Regions from separate parts of the Homo sapiens genome. Here region 1 is linked to region 2. Evidence: promoter capture Hi-C in 16 types of primary human blood cells and fetal thymus (Javierre and others, 2016). All regions are on one chromosome and are shown on one strand. Each heading gives the region's core, a stretch centred on a gene start or on the middle of the fragment in contact. The rest is flanking DNA. Distances are from core to core; before and after follow the strand shown. Region 1 overlaps N4BP2 (NEDD4 binding protein 2). Region 2 holds the start of CHRNA9 (cholinergic receptor nicotinic alpha 9 subunit).

What was found. The method cuts DNA at HindIII sites, captures the fragments that hold promoters and counts their contacts. A CHiCAGO score of 5 or more calls a contact.
Region 1: a fragment that was not itself captured here is called in contact with the fragment with the promoter of CHRNA9 in region 2 in 8 of 17 cell types (naive CD4 T cells, naive CD8 T cells, non-activated CD4 T cells and 5 more); the score reaches 7.9 in naive CD4 T cells.

Annotation. Positions count from the first base shown.
Region 1 is chr4:40,070,133-40,072,960 of GRCh38, reverse strand. All of the region lies in intron 1 of N4BP2 (NEDD4 binding protein 2), which reads right to left. Among named protein-coding and RNA genes, the nearest start is that of N4BP2, 15 kb to the right of the region's middle. The HindIII fragment of the contact is 6,116 bases long and covers 1-2,828 here.
Region 2 is chr4:40,333,879-40,336,791 of GRCh38, reverse strand. It overlaps CHRNA9 (cholinergic receptor nicotinic alpha 9 subunit), which reads right to left and starts at 1,459. Exons shown (of 5, transcript NM_017581.4): 1 at 1,261-1,459; 2 at 820-965. The coding sequence starts at 1,324. The HindIII fragment of the contact is 7,151 bases long and covers 1,082-2,913 here.

The DNA of each region.
Region 1 (2,828 bases), core at 247-2,746, 260 kb after region 2:
TACTTGAGGTCAGGAGTTTGAGACCAGCCTGGCCAACATGGTGAGACCCCGTCTCTGCTAAAAATAAAAATTAGCTGGGCATGGTGGTGCACACCTGTAATCCCAGCTACTCAGGAGGGAGGCTGAGACAGGAGAATCACCTGGGAGGCAGAGATTGCAGTGAGCCGAGATGGCACCATTGCAGTCCAGCGTGGGCAACAGAGAGAGGCTCTGTCCCAAAAAAAAAAAAAAGTCCCACAAAAATAAAAGAAAGAAATTTATCTGGGGCCGGGAGTGGTAGCTCACGAGTGTAGTCCTATTACTTTGGGAGGCCTGGGGGGGTACAGGGAGGGATTGCCTGAGCTCAGGAGTTGGAGACCAGCCAGGGCAACGTGATGAAACCTCATCTCTACTAAAATTACAAAAATTAGCCAGGTGGGCCGAGCGCGGTGGCTCACGCCTGTAATCCCAGCACGTTGGGAGGCCGAGGTGGGTGGATCACGAGGTCAGGAGATCAAGACCATCCTGGCAAACATGGCGAAACCCCATCTCTACTAAAAATACAAAAATTAGCTGGGCATGGTGGCACGTGCCTATAATCCCAGCTACTCAGGAGGCTGAGGCAGGAGAATTGCTTGAACCAGGGAGTCGAAGGTTGCAGTGAGCCAAGATCACGCCACTGAACTCCAGCCTGGCGACAAAGTGAGACTCCATATCAAAAAAAAAAAAAAAAAAAAAATTAGCCAGGCATAGTGGCACACGCCTGTAGTCTCAGCTTACTCAGGAGGCTGACGCACAAGAATCACTTGAACCCGGAAGGCGGAGATTGCAGTGAGCTGAGATTGTGCCACCGCACTCCAGCTTGGGTGACAGAAGGAGACTCCATCTCAAAAAAGAAAAAAAAAATTAGCCAGGCATAGTGGCAAATGCTTGTAGTCCCAGCTTACTCAGGAGGCTGACGCATGAGAATCGCTTGAACCCGGGAGGCAGAGGTTGCAGTGAGCTGAGATTGTGCCACTGCACTCCAGCCTGGGTGACAGAGTGAGTCTCTGTCTCCAAAAAGTCAAAAAATAAAATAAAATAAAATAAAAATGTTTTTTAAAAAAAGAAATTTGAGGCCGGGGGCAGTGGCTCACACCTATAATCCCAGCACTTTGGGAGGCCAAGGCAGGAGGATCACCTGAGGTCAGGAGTTCAAGACCAGCCTGGCCAATATGGCGAAACTTCGTCTCTACTAAAAATACATAATTAGCTGGGCGTGGTGGCGAGAGCCTGTAGTCCCAGCTACTCGGGAGGCTGAGGCAGGAGAATCACCTGAACCCAAGAGACAGAGGTTGCAGTGAGCCGAGATCGCACCATTGCACTCCAGCCTGGGCAACAAGAGCAAAACTCCGTCTCAAAAAAATAAAAAATAAAAAATTTACCTGATGTCAAAGTACCACCCTATAGATTACTACTTGCTAGAAGCAAAAAGAAAACCATAACTTTATAATGAAATGATCAGGTTCTCACCACATTAGCTTGGTGATCAAATACAGCATCAAAATAGTGGGACCTGACATTATATGCCTCTTAACTAGAAACAGTAGGAAGTACACAGCATTACTAAATGAGATACTCTTCCAAAACTGTTTAACCTAAGTCTACTCACACCTTTAGATCTAACTCCCAGTTTACAGGAAATAAATATAGGGGATAGAGGAAGAAGTAATACTACACCATGAGGAAACAAGCAGCAATACAAAATGTAATCGTCTCAACAGACCTAACAGGTCAATACCACAGGGAAGGAGAGGCAGAGTAGGGAAGGAGAGGCAGAGTAGAGAAGGAGGTGGATGGGTAGAAGAGACAGTTCTACCTATATATTTAAAAAGACTCAAGATTACAACCCAAATGCAACGGGTAGTTCTTGACTGAAATCTGGCATTTAAAAAAAAAACACCAGCCTGGCCAACATGGTGAAACCCCGTCTCCACTAAAAATACAAAAATTAGCCAGGCATGGTGGCGGACACCTGTAATCCCAGCTATTTAGGAGGCTGAGGCAAGAGAACTGCATGAACTCAGGAGAAGGAGGTTGCAGTGAGCGAAGATCACGCCACTGCACTCCAGCCTGGGTGATAGAGCAAGACTTCCTCTCAAAAAAAAAAAGAAGAAAAAAAAACACCACACAGCAATCAAAAACATTTTTGGAACAACTCAGGAAATCTGAATATAGTATAAGTAGCATGTATCAGGGAATCAGGTCACATGCCTGTAATCCCAGCACTTTGCGAGGCCAAGGCAGGAGGATCACTTGAGACTACAAGTTTAAGACCAGCCTGGGCAACATGGCAAGACCACATCTCTACAAAAAATACAAAAATTAGCCAGTCATGGTGGTATGTGCCTGTAGCCCCCAGCCACTCCAGGAGGCTGAGGCAGGAGAATGGCTTGAGCCTGGGAGGTCAAGGCTGCAGTAAGCCATGAATGTGCTGCTGTACTCTAGTCTGGGCAACAGAGCAAGACCCTGTCTCAAAAAAAAATCAAAAAGTAGTATAATACTAGGGAATTACTGGTAATTTTGCTAGAAATGATAATGGTTTTATGGCTATATAGGGAGAATGTCCTCCTTTTCCTTGGCGAGATCTGAAGATATACGTCTTCTTATATAATCTTTTAAAAGAGCAAATATCAATCTAAATCTTTAAATGTCAAAGTCCAAAATACATACATTTATAATACAATCATATGATACTTAAAAGGGAAAACTGAAAAAAACTTATTTGCCCCTCTTAGTTTACTTTTAAATGGTTCAGGAAATTTATATATGTAGATAAAACAAATATGGCAAAATGGTAACAATTGTTG
Region 2 (2,913 bases), core at 210-2,709:
AAAATTGAGATTGGCCGGGCGCGGTGGCTCATGCCTGTAATCCCAGCACTTTGGGAGGCCGAGGCGGGCGAATCATGAGGTCAGGAGATTGAGACCATCCTGACTAACACGGTAAAACCCTGTCTCTACTAAAAATACAAAAAAAAAATTAGCCGGGTGTGGTGGCGGGTGCCTGTAGTCTCAGCTACTCAGGAGGCTGAGGCAGGAGAATGGTGTGAACCCAGGAGGCAGAGCTTACAGTGAGCGGAGATCATGCCACTGCACTCCAGCCTGGGTGACAGCAAGACTCCGTCTCAAAAAAAAAATTAAGATCAAATTCACATTAAAACTCACCATTTTAATCATTTTCGAAGGGAACAATGCACCGGCTTCCAATATATTCACAACGTTGTGCAACCATCACCACTGCCTAATTCAAGATCATTTCTTCCCCCCGCAAAGAAACGCCGTAATCATTAAGAACTCACTGGCCGTTTTCCCCGTCCTCCCCACAGACCCCGGCAACCTCTATGCCGTTTTCTGTCTCTACGGATTTACCTCTTTTGGACATTTTATATAAATGGCTGCATACAGTATGTAACCCCATCTTTCTTTAGATTATCTAAGACTGTTACAGTTAATGACCAGGATTAGGTAACGTTTCTTGAAATTAATTAGTTTTGTAGAAAGCTTCCTTTTCCCGACATTCTCTTCTCCCACCAGCTTGCTTAAGGAGCTATCATTCCCTCTCAAATTCCCAGTTAAGACATTCTCTTCAGAAAGCATGGTTGTTTATCCTCTAAGAATCATTCCACAGAGTCAGCACCATGTGTTACTCACCATATCCTTAATCTGAGAGAGCGTAATCTGCAGGGTCACATTCAGGACTTTATCTGTATCTTCCACTGGACGAAGAGCATTAGAATAATCTTCAAAAAGGTCATTAAACAACTTCTGAGCATATTTTCCATCTGCCGTCTCTGCAGCTACTCAACAAGAGGGATCTGGATTAACATTCAGAGTGTTGTGTGTATTTCAAGACAAACAACACAAGACTGAGGTCTAAAATGGGGGATGGCCCAACACTGGCGAGGGACAAGCTTTGGGTGGATGGATGAGTTGTTTTTCTGGCATGCCCTACCAAGATCAGAGTCAGTAGGAAGCACAGAACACTTCCATGCGGTTGAATCATCTGTTTTGTCTTCCCTGTCCTGCCCCACCTCCCACCAAAGCAATAGCCCCAGATGAGACAAGATAGGTTACGTGTCACCAGCCTCTCACCTCTCAGTCTGGAAGCAGCAAAGTAGATCCAGCAAAAGGAGATGCAGGAATGGGACCAGTTCATCTTTTTCCTGAGCCTCTATAATAAAGTCTCAGTCAGGCAGCGTGGTCTTCCACTTCCCCCTATGAATACAAAGGATCTGGGCACAAGGAGCCCACACCGCTGCAGCCTTATGGCGGGAGAGCTCAGGCTTGCATTGCATGCAGGACCGAGATCCTGAGATCCAGGCCTGCCCTCCCTCCCCTCCGGTAATTTGAGACTGGCAGCTCCAGTGGCTGAGAAGCCGGGAACCCAGGGTGTGTTAGGTCCAACAGTGCTGTTGTGGGGGGCCATCTCAGTTGAGGGTCCCTAGCCACCCTCAGCAGAAACAACCAGACAGAAAAGGAGGTAGATGCAGGCAACAGGGGTATGCCTGACACCCCAGAGACTCCATCTAAGCAGAATGGGAGATTTCTACACCCACCATGAGCAGAGTCAGCCTGAGTCCAGGGACTAAGGGAAGCCTAAAAGACTGAGCCATGGGACGGCTGTCCAGAAAGACTCTACGTGCTTTTAGCAGCATTTGAAGAGGGAAAGAGACACGGTTCTATGATCTCCAGAATATATTGGCATTTTGGTTTTTTCTCTGCCTCAGCTTCTGATCCCTCCTGCAGCTGTCCCACTGGGCATGGATCTTGCATAGTAAATGTTTGTGAGTATATATGTGAGGGGGTGTGCTGGATGGGCGGATAATCACTCGCTTAAGAAGCAGCAACACTGTGAGTTGGATTTGGACTTGACCACCTGGGTTTGACTGCCAGCCAAACCCTGACGAGCTCTATTATTCTGTAAAAGTCACCTAACCTCTCTGAGCCTTCCAGAACTACAGACTGGGGAAAATAATATTTTCTCTCTCTAGAGCTACTGAGATAACTGTATGTGAAAGCACTTTCTAAATATCAGTAATTATCATCTTTGATCAGCTTTGCATACCCAGAATTTCTATACTCACCAAGTCACCCAGGATTTACCAGCTCGAAAAAAAAAAAGAAAAACTGGTTCAAAGGCTGACCAAATCAGCATGAGAATAATAACCAATGGTGATATTGCTAATGATGACACCCTTTGCATTTGAATGCTACTTCATATAAAGTTTCAGTCATTTCTCATATGTGATATAATTTTACTCCTATAAAAAAATGTCAATTTTCAATTGCTGCTTAGTCTGGAAACTCATGTCTGTCTCTCCTCTTGCCTGGGGAAACTGCTTTGGAAAACCATATTAAGATAATTTGGTTGCCTGGAATTGGAGCGAGGAAATTGGATAGCTCTGTTTCATCAGGTTACAGCCGCCTGATGAGTCACCCCATCCCTCTTCGGGAATGTATCCTCTGAGTGGAACAGACACTCAAGCCATCGGCAAAGTGTTTCTTAATTGCCTATCCCATTGTGTTGATTGTGAAGACATTATTTTTCTGACGCCCCTAGTCTGACTCATTCATCAAATGACACAATTCCGGGTGCCCACGCTCAGTCCTCCTTCAGCAAACCATCCGCTCCAGAATCTCAGAGGCAGAAGGTAATTTTGAAATTGAGTTTAATGCCTCACTTCTATATGAGGAAACTGAGGCCCAGGGATGCAGAGTGGCTTCCCTCCAGCAGTGATCGGCCAG